3 separate regions of the Homo sapiens genome follow, and all the other regions are linked to region 1. Evidence: promoter capture Hi-C in 16 types of primary human blood cells and fetal thymus (Javierre and others, 2016). All regions are on one chromosome and are shown on one strand. Each heading gives the region's core, a stretch centred on a gene start or on the middle of the fragment in contact. The rest is flanking DNA. Distances are from core to core; before and after follow the strand shown. Region 1 holds the start of ATP6V1B1-AS1 (ATP6V1B1 antisense RNA 1). Region 2 has its middle 19 kb from the start of FAM136A. Region 3 has its middle 46 kb from the start of FAM136A.

What was found. Contacts are between HindIII fragments. The CHiCAGO score rates a contact against its expected background, and 5 or more counts as called.
Region 2: a fragment that was not itself captured here is called in contact with the fragment with the promoter of ATP6V1B1-AS1 in region 1 in 16 of 17 cell types (M2 macrophages, M1 macrophages, M0 macrophages and 13 more); the score reaches 14.9 in M2 macrophages.
Region 3: a contact is called between a fragment that was not itself captured here and the fragment with the promoter of ATP6V1B1-AS1 in region 1, in 4 of 17 cell types (M2 macrophages, M0 macrophages, M1 macrophages and 1 more). The highest score is 8.0, in M2 macrophages.

Annotation. Positions count from the first base shown.
Region 1 is chr2:70,946,650-70,950,166 of GRCh38, reverse strand. It overlaps ATP6V1B1-AS1 (ATP6V1B1 antisense RNA 1), which reads left to right and starts at 1,556. Exons shown (of 2, transcript NR_110274.1): 1 at 1,556-1,940. All of the region lies in intron 2 of ATP6V1B1 (ATPase H+ transporting V1 subunit B1), which reads right to left. The HindIII fragment of the contact is 10,354 bases long and covers 1-3,517 here.
Region 2 is chr2:70,319,510-70,323,026 of GRCh38, reverse strand. No RefSeq gene overlaps it. Among named protein-coding and RNA genes, the nearest start is that of FAM136A, 19 kb to the right of the region's middle. The HindIII fragment of the contact is 2,430 bases long and covers 391-2,820 here.
Region 3 is chr2:70,346,486-70,350,002 of GRCh38, reverse strand. It overlaps the pseudogene BRD7P6. Among named protein-coding and RNA genes, the nearest start is that of FAM136A, 46 kb to the right of the region's middle. The HindIII fragment of the contact is 1,057 bases long and covers 1,463-2,519 here.

The sequences.
Region 1 (3,517 bases), core at 307-2,806:
CAGAAGGAGATCCCAGATTTTATAGGACTATTATAGAACAAATGTTGTATATTAATTAATTCTCAGAGGGGAAATAATATATAGAACATAAGAGGATATCTAGTTAGAAGATAACCACATCATAAACCCAAATACATTCCAGGCATGTAAAAAAAATTTAAATATAAAGTAAAAACAATTTTTAAAAAATACTGGAAGAGCTTTTCTTCTTTCCTATCTTTCTGAATAATCCAATTAAAAGACAGATGAGCAATGTCTTTAAGCAAGACAAGAAATTCAGAAGGTATAAACAAAAAATATTTGATCATATGAGTATTTCAAACTTCTGTATGGCAGAGACACAATAGATGAAATCTTTGTTTCATTTATTGTTGCAAAAGATAGCCTGTGAGCAATAAACAAGGAGCTCCCGTATGCACAACTTGCTTGGTAGGAAGATTTCACGGAGAAGGAAGCAAAATCAAAATGGTAAACATATGGACAGACACTCAACTTTCCTAGTTATCAGAGAAATGTAAATAAAAGCGAGACAGTACTAGTTTTCATTTATTAGATAGGTAAAACTACAGAGAGAACATATTCAGGGCCAGCAAGGATGTGGGGAAGTGGGTCCTCTCATACCTGGTTGGTGGAAATGTGAATTACCACAACCCTTCTGGGCAAGCCATCTTGCCCCAAATTGTCAATATCTAATTTGAAATAAAAAAGTACTTGAACCAGCAATTCCACTTCTGGGAATCTATCCTATAACCACAAAAGCGTCCGTTTAAAAGGGATACAATATTGTACTATTTGTAATGGCAAAACCTGAGAACATACGAATGTCTGTCAATAATGGGACTATTGAGTAAGTTACAGTACATCCATACTATCGCCTGCTATGCCAGTATCCAAAAGAATGCGTAAAATGTGTATCCGCTGACACTGTCAGTGGATCCACTGTCAGTCCCTTGGCTCTCAAGGGACTGACCCCGAGGTCAACCTCTAACATATTTGCCTGTGTTTGAGCGTATTCAGCAGGGTCTTTCGGGGCTGAGAATAAAGCGGTTAGGGGCAGATAGTTAACTTTACGTGTCTTTCCTCTTTTTCACTAAGTTACAAGGAGCATGTATTATTTTTGCAATTAAAATATAATACATTTTTAGGACATGTTACAGCACAGTGCTGGTGATTATCATCATCATTACTATCGTTATATCACCTACTGGCCACAAACTAGTGACCTTAAGGGCTTGCGGGTTGGGGCGGAGGGTCCAATTCCCCAGCAAGGTGTGACCAAGTAGGGACCACTCCGCCAGGGAACCCCTGCTGGTCGAACTTGAGACTAGGTTTGCAGCCCTGACAATCACACGGAAGGGAGCGCTACCTTGAGTCCTCCCTTGTCCTGTGAAGAGGATGCCAGGAAGGTGACCTGTGGTTCCCCAAACCACCCCTCAGCCTTGCGGAGTGGGGGCTTCAGCACTAGGCCGGCCGGGGAGGAGGGCTCCGAGGTGGGAGGAGCTCCGAACACCCAGGCGTCTTGGGTTCTCAACCACAAGAGGGAGCCCAGGAGCACGGACAGCGAGGGCCTGGGAAACGCGTGGAACACACGTCCCGGCTCGTTTTCCTCTCCCACTCTGATAACCTGTGTTTCGATACGAAACGGGCCCTGCCTCATTATTTGTCATCTCCCTGGAGGTGACGGAGGGCTGTTTCAACCTCAGGGGAAAAGTTGCTGTACAGAACACAGGCCAGAGTGTGCCCCAAAGAAATCAGGCGGTGGAGTGATTTAAAAGTGATCATTTTCTGTAGTCCTAGCTACTCGGGAGGCTGAGGCAGGAAAATCGCTTGAACCCGGGAGAAGAAGGATGCAGTGAGCAGAGATCGTGCCATTGCACTTCAGCCTGGCGACAGAGCAAGACTCCGTCTCAAAAAGAAAAAAAAAAAGTGATCATTTTCATGTGAGTTTATGTGGGTGAGAGAGGGAGGGTGGCAGGAGAGGAGAGTGGAGAGGAGAGTGGTGCGTTCTGTGTCCCTGAAGGACAAAATCAGAGAAAATGAACTTTAAATGGCAGAAATTGTGGTCAGATCTGGGGAAGGGCCATCAGGTTTTCACACTCAGGCATGGAGGGTGTAGTGTCTGGAACCTTTAGGAAGAGCCCCAGGCTCTAAGTGTGTGCTGGATGTTCGTCGTTATTGTTGTTGGTGGTGGGATCTCATGACCAGTTATGGCAGTGGGTACCTGGGAGAATTCCCGTGGGGGATAGCTAGTCCAGGAGCTTGTATCTTAAGGGGCCCTATTTCCCAGCCGCATACTGAGCAGGCCTGATCCCATCAACTCGGTTGATGTCGGTTACTAAGAGGGCTGCAGGAAGAGGGCATGACTCAGTGCAATGTAACCCCGTGCTGGAGATTCAACTGAGCTCTCAACCAGCAAGTGGCCAGGCACAGGGGAGCTGCTGTCTACACACGGAGGACTGGAAGTTCTTAGCAAGCCTGTCGGGATTTGTGCACAGGAATGCTGCCTCTAAGGTCCCTCCTGCTGACAATGGCCAGGGCAGTGCGGAGGCTCCTCTTTGGAAATTGTCTTCAGAGCTGATGCAGACTCTTTTGAAAGCAGCCACAGACATTGGGGATGGAGTCTGGTGGTTAAGGTGAGTGCTTACTCCAATTCTCAAACAGGGACCAATTTGAATCACAGACTACAGGAGTCAGAAGATTCTCTAGAACAGAGGTTCTCCGTGTGGTCCCCATACCAGCAGCATCACCTAGGAACTTGATAGAAATGTACATTCTTGGGCCTCCTACCCCAGGCATGCTGAATCAGAGCTCTGGGGTGGGGCCTAGCAATCTGCCTGTTAACAAGCCCCCTGCACCCCTGATATTCTGATGCTTGTTCAACTTATACAAATCAGAGAGTTAGACTTTTCTGGGTCACGAACCCTGAAAAATCAGACGAAACTGTAGAAACTCCTACCAGAAAAATGCACAGGCACATTCATGCATACCTTCAAAGGTCTGCACACAATTTCAAGGGCCTAATTCCTTGGGCTAAGAACCTCTGATCTACACAAAATTCTTCCCTCAAATGTTCTTACATTTGAGGACGGAAGCAGGAAGAGTAATTGCCTGTGTGATTCAATGTGGGCAGAAGGTGGCGCTGTAGAAACAGAATTGTAGCATTTGCCAAATCCTGGTAGAGGGAAAGGGGTAGGGGCAACGGAGAGGGATGGGGAGAGGTGCCTCCACCACCCAATTATTTTTCTCTGCCAAAGCTACAGATGCATCCGATAGTCGCAAAACCACAGGTCTGGGGACCTAGTTCTGGTTTCCTAGATCGGCCTCATTTTACAGTGGAGAAAATGGACACCTGTATAGGTTCCGACTCCATGCCACACTGGGTCCCATGGAGAATGGCAGGTCTGGTGGAGAGTGTGGTGGAGGTGGAGAGGGGGCAGGAGGTGGCACCAACTGTTGAATCAGGCTTATTAGCATTTCTGCATTCCAGGCAGAAACATTGCTGGCTATTCTCAAGGGA
Region 2 (3,517 bases), core at 356-2,855, 630 kb after region 1:
TAAAAGAACTTCAGCATGTTTTTATCTTGGATTCATTTATCCTGATACTGATGCTGCAATCCCTGATTTCTTTGGGTCTGCCTTTGCAAGGCTGCCCTCTTATTTGTAGCCTTTCTGGGTTGCTTTTGTTTTGAGTGTCTCTTAACAATGGCTGTACTTTGCTGCACACACACCAGCGGGATATGTTCCTGGTGAAAAGTGCATGTGTACTTCCAGAGCCTTAGCTGGTTTGTGTCCTACCTGAGTAGCCAATTAAACTCACCCTGCCCCACACACATGACTCTGTAACACAAGGCTCTCTGGCCGTCTACCACCTCTGGTATTTTCATCATCATAGCACTCAGGGTTTCCATGCCCTGACTCAACTTCCTTCTGTTTCTGTCTCAAGCTTTTCCACCATGCCCACCAGAATTAGTTTTGAGTGTAATAAATGCCCCCATACTGCCAACCTTTCTACTAAGGTTTCCTTCACCTCCTTGTCTTAACTGAAACCTAGATTTTCCCATAAGATCCCCACTTCTAAAACATTAAGTACTATGGAAACCACTACCACATTTCATTTCAAAGTGTTCTTTCCTTTTTATTTCATCTTCCTTCCTCTTTATGTACTCCATTAGGCAGATCCATCTTCATTTCTATTATCTCATTATCTTTTTTTTCCATTTCCTAGAAACTATGTTTTCTTGACTTTAAAGAACAAGGCAAGCCTCCTCACACCTGTGATCCCACCACTTTGGGAGGCCAAGATGGGTGGATCACCCAAAGTCAGGAGTTCAAGACCAGCCTGGCCAACGTGGCAAAACCCCATCTCTACTGAAAATAACAAAAATTAGCCAGGCATGGTGGCACACACCTATAATCCCAGCTACTTGGGAGGTTGAGGCCAGAGAATCGCTTAAACCTGGAAGGTGGAGGTTGCAGTGAGCAGAGATGGTGCCACTGCTCTCCAGCCTGGGTGACAGAACAAGACTCTGTCTCAAAAAAAAAAAAAAAGAAAAAAAGAAAAAAGAACAATGCAATGCAAGCCTGGACAACGAGGTGAGACCCTGTCTCTACAAAAAAATTAAAAATTAGCTGAGCATAGTGGTATGTGTCTGTAGTCCTAGCTACTAGGGAGGCTGTGCCTGGAGGATCACTTGAGCCCAGGAGTTTAAGGTTATCGTGAGCTTTTTTTTTTTTTTTTAAGAGACAGGGTCTCACTCTGTTGCCCAGGCTTCAGTGCAGTGGCACAATCATAGCTCACTGCAGCCTCAAGCTCCTGGGCTCAAGTGATCCTTCTGCCTCAACCTCCCAAAGTGCTGAGGATTACAGAGATGAGCCACTGAACCCAGCCTACAGTGAGCTATGATCACCTAGTGGCTCTTTAGCCCTTCTTAACATCCATAACAAATCTCACAACCTCCACTGTGTCTGCTGCCACAGTCAAGATGTTACGCAAGCAGCCCTCAGCCACCCGCCACCTCTTGCCTTCCTCTCTACCTCCCTCATCCAGCCGGATTACATCAGCTAACAACTCTTGGATCTGTGAAGAACTTTGCTGACACTCTAAACTGCTCCTCAAAAACTACTAAGAGATGGGGCATGGTGGCTCACGCCTGTAATCCCAGCACTTTGCAGGCTGAGGCAGGCAGATCACTTGAGGACGGGAGTTCGAGACCAGCCTAGCCAACATGGTGAAACCTCGTCTCTACTAAAAATACAAAAATTGGCCAGGCGCGGTGGCTCACACCTGTAATCCCAGCACTTCGGGAGGCCGAGGCGGGCAGATCACGAGGTCAGGAGATCGAGACCATCCTGACCACAGTGAAACCCCATCTCTACTAAAAATACAAAAAAGTAGGTGGGCGTGGTGGCGGGCGCCTGTAGTCCCAGCTACTCAGGAGGCTGAGGCAGGAGAATGGCGTGAACCCGGGAGGCAGAGCTTGCACTGAGCCGAGACTGCGCCACGGCACTCCAGCCTGGGCGACAGAGCAAGACCCCATCTCAAAAAACAAAACAAAACAAAAAATTAGCCGGACATGGTGGCAGTTGCCTGTAATCCCTGCTACTAGGGAGGCTGAGGCATGAGAATCACTTGAACCCGGGAGGTGGAGGTTGCAGTGAGCCTAGATCGTGCCACTGCACTCCAGCCTGGGTGACAGAGTGTGCCCTGTCTCAAAAAAAAAAAAAAAAAGTTACTAAGAGCTTGCTGCTTTGTTACTGCCCCCTGAGTCCCCACTGCCCTTGAATCCCACTGGCCTACAAGGGACACTTGTCAAGAAGCAGGAAGGCATGGTGGTTACAGGTATGGCCTCTGGAGCCAGACAGCCTGGGTTTGAATCCTGGCTTTACTACTTGCAAACACATGACCTTGTGTAAGGTGCTTAACTTTTCTGTTTCCTCATCTGTAAAATGCAGACAATAATAATAATACCATAGGATTAGAATGAGGATTTGAAGACATATTTCCAAAGCACCTAGAATAATGCCCGGCACATCGTAAGCCAGACGTTTGTAAATAAATAAATGAGACTCTGTGTACCAACGGAGCTATTTCCCCTATGTCCAGCATTGATCATGACATCCCCAGTCTTCTCCATTCATTTTCCTTTTAATTTTTTATTTTGAAATATTTTCGAGCACACAGGAAAGTAAACACAGAGACTAATACAGCCAATGCCTATGTGCTTATCAGGCAGACTAATTTTTAAAACATTTGTGTAGCAGAGAGAGAAATATGTGTATTTGTGTGTACATGTGTATTATTCTAAGATATAGAGACAGAGTTCTGCCTGAGGAGAAATGAGTTCTTTTACTTAACTTGAATATAAAAGTGAAGCTTCTAGGACTTGGGCTGGACAGGTGAAAGGAAAACACACAAAGAAGCCTGGGAGACTGGATCCAGAAAGGAAGATACGATAAGGGTGGAGGAAAGAAAGGCCAAACCTCATAGTGAGTAGAATGTTCTTCTCCACAGAAGCAGGAATCGCTGAGGCCTTTCTGAACCACACAATCCTATGTTCAAGTTAAAGCTGTTTGCTGTGCCGTGATGCTGTATGACTTCTCTTGTTGCCTCAAACTTTCCATCAACAACCGCCACTCACACTCGCTCCATTGAGTGTGCGGTACTGAGAGGGCATGAAGCAACCAGGGAAGTACCTAGTGTAGGTTGACAAGGTCCAAAAATGGAATAGCACATATGGGAGATGAGATGCCACCCTGCAACCGGCAGCAGCCCGCCGGGAAACCAACCCCTTCATCCACAATAAACAAGCTAGGAGACCAGACCACTACAAATCAGACTTGCAGCAAGCCTGCCTGCTGTCTCTAAGTGACAATCCAGGATGCAGCTTCCCTCATTTTTGTCCCCACATCCAATTTATTTAATTTTTTTTATTTATTATTTTTTAGATGGAGTCTCACTCTGTTGGCCAGGCTGGAGTGCAGTGGCACGATCCTGGCTCACTGCAACCACCGCCTCCCAGGTTCAAGTGATTCTCCTGCCTCAGCCACCCTAACAGCTGAGAATACAGGTGCC
Region 3 (3,517 bases), core at 742-3,241, 600 kb after region 1:
TCATCCTTCTGCAAAAGTTATACAGTTTTAATTCCTATAGTTTTATGATGTCTTCATAACTTAAGGGCAAATATCCTCATCATACTCATCTTCAATATTGTCTTAGCTCTTCTTTAACCTTTTTAATACTAATTTTGTCAAGTTTCATGAAACCTCCTACTGAAAGTTTTAGTTGAATTACATTAAATTTATAATTTCGGGGAGAATTGTTACCATTTATGACTATAGTATATCTCTCTGTATTAGTCTACAGTCTCCAGAAAAACAGAACCAATACAGGGTGTGTGTGTGTGTGTGTGTGTGTGTGTGTGCGTGTGTGTGTGTGTGGGTGTAGAGAGAGAGATTTTAAAGAATTGGCTCACACAGTTGTGGGGCTTGCAAGTCCAAAATCTGTAGGGCAGGCCAGCAGCCTGGAAATTTCAGCAGAAATTGATGTTGCAGTCTTGAATCCTGAGGTAGTCTGGAAGCAGAATTCCTTCCTCTCACAGAGACGGCCATCTTTTCTCTGAGGCCACCCACAGTATGGAGAATAATCTGCTTTCCTCAATATCTCCTGATTTCAGTGTTAACCTAATATGAAAAAATACCTTCCTAGCAACATCTAGATCACTGTTTGAGCCAATAACTGGGTACCATAGCCCAGCCAGGTTGACACTTTAAATTAACTACCACGTTCTCCATGTTTTTAGGTCTTCTTTGATGTCTTCCATAAAGGTTTTGCATATCTGCTTGTTAGACTTATTACTGGATTCATAGTTTTTGTTGCTGTTGGAAATAGTATACATATATTTCTAACTTTATATTGAGGTATAGCATTCATATGGCAAAGTGCACAAATCACAAATGTCCAACTTGATGAATTTTTGCAAACCTAACACATCCATAAAACTAGCAAACAGAAACACAGAACCTTACTAACATCCCAGAAGCCCACTTGTACCTTCCTCCAGTAGCTGTTCACCACCTTTCCCCCTCATCAAGAGTAACTGCCCTGACTTCTAACACCATGATTGGTTTTCCCTGGTTTGGGATTTGATATAAATCATAGAAAATGTGCTTTTTTTTTTAAAGCTGATCTCTTAACATTCTGTTTGATATTTTTTCATATTGGATGCAGTTGTTGGTTCGTTCTCACTGCTGTTTTGAATTCCATTGATTACACCAGTCTTCTGTCAGTTTATCCATTCTACCATTGGTGGGCATTTGGGAAGCTGTTTGGGGCTAATGCAAATGGTGTTACTCTGAATATGTTTTTGGTGAACATAAAGATATAGGAAATGATTGTACATATCATTTGGTGAAAGTAGAATATAGGAAATGATGTATTTTTAATTATAATTCTGTTATTTAAGATGTTTAGGACCACTACTGAGTTTTCTAAGTCAATCTTAATTTGTCATCTGAAGACTTTTTTGGAACATATATGTAGAGAGTCGTAACACCTGGGCAATATTTCCAAGCTTTGCTGTGGCATTTGACATTCGTCCCAGGTCACCAGAGAGGCAAAAGCACCACCGCCCAGAAAGGACTCCTTCTGATAGAGGAAAAACCCTTTAAACTCCTTTGTCCTCTGGCTGGCAGCTCTCTTTGACTCAAGGCAATCTTATGAAGAGGGAGTTCTAGTCAAATAGACATAACAATTCCTACACCTGTGTCCCAACCACACACTCTTCACCTTCTGAATTTGGCCTTTGTGGTAGGCAGAATAAGACTTTCCAAAAATGTCCATGTCCTAATCCTCAGAACCTGTGAATATGTTATCGTACCTGGTAAAAGGGACTTTGTGGACGTGAATAAATTAAGGATTTTGAGATGGGGAGGTTATCCTGGATTATCTGGGTGGGCCCAAAATAATCATAAGGTTCTTTATAAGACAAAGGCAGGAAGGTCAGAGTCATAGAAGAACATGTGATTATGGAAGCAGAAGTCATATTGGCAGATGCTACCTTTGCTGGCTTTGACAATGGAGGAAGGGAGCATGGGCCAAGGAATGCAGGTGGCCTCCAGCAGCTGTAAAAACAAGGAAAAAGATCCCCTAGAGCCTCCAGAAGGAATCAGCCCTTTTGTCCCTTGACATTAGCCCAGTGAGATTGATTTTAGACTTCTGATCTTCAGAACTGTAAGATAATAAATTTGTGTTGTTTTAAACTACTAAATTTACAGTAATTTATTATAGCAGCAATACAGACTTCATCCCCAGCTCCCCTGCCCCCAGGTAACTGGAGAGGGTGATTTCCTGCTTCCTGCAGAGCACCACTCCCAACCCCACCCCTGGTCCTCACTGCAGGACTTGGTAGATGAACAGGGCTCTCTACTAACTTTCTTTCACATATAGATGCACCTTGATTTACAATGGGGTTACATCCTGATAAACCCACCATAAGTTGAAAGTACTAAAAATCCAAAATGCATTGAATATGCCTAACCTACTGAACATCAGAGCTTAGCCTAGTCTACCTTAAAAGTCCTCAGAACACTTACATTACTCTACAGTTGAGCAAATCATTGAACACAAAGCTTATTTTATAATAGTGTTAAATATCTCATGTAATTTATTGAATACTATACTGAAGTTGGAAAACAGAATGGTTGTGTTAAACTAAACTAAAACTTAAAGCCCTTGGCATAAGCATTCTAGGATTTACAGTAGCAGTGGAACTTAATCTTATGACTAATAATCTCAAACTTGAATCCCCTTCACACACATATAAATTCTTCAACATATTAGGTTTCTTCCCATTACAATACACCACATGATATCATATTCAAACCTCACTGCAACCAAAATATAACATCTCTTCTATTAGACTTAATTGCAATAGAAAAAACAATATCAACAAATGTAGCCCAATTCCAAAAACTCAAAGTACAGTTTCTGCTGAATGTGTATCACTTTTGTACCATCTAAAGTCAAAAAATCCTAAATCAAACAATCCTAAGTCAGGGACCATCCACACAGTCTTCAAGAGGTCCCTGGTACAGGCAGGGCTGCCTGTCTCTCTTCTCTGTTCCCATGCTGGGGCCTCCCTGGTTGTTCCCTGCCCTCCCTCAGGTGCTGTCAGTCCACAGAGAGAAGAGAAGCCATGTTCAGAGGCATGGCCAGGTTCTAACAAAAGGGGAAGCCAGTAGCAGTGCCCAGGCTCAAAACCTTCCTCTAAAATCTCATCAGCACCCCCTCACCACCACCCCACACAAGCCACCTCCTAAAACACTCGGTGCAAAACCCTGCAATTGCAGCTTCAAGACAAGTTCCCTAACTCTGTTCCACTCTCTTCCAGCTGGATTGCATCCCCTAAATCCAGTGATCCAGAAATTCTGGAGCCTCCACCAGGAAGAGAGAGCATAGGGTTGGATAACAGGGCAGGTCCCAGGCATTGTTTTGATTCTTGTTCTAAAGGGGCTTGGGCCCTCAGAACAAACTGGAAAACCCACCACCTTTTCATACCAGAGCATATCCCTGGTTTGCTTGAGAAGGACTCTCTAATGGCAGAGTTTTAGAGCCTCTAGGGGGAAAGGG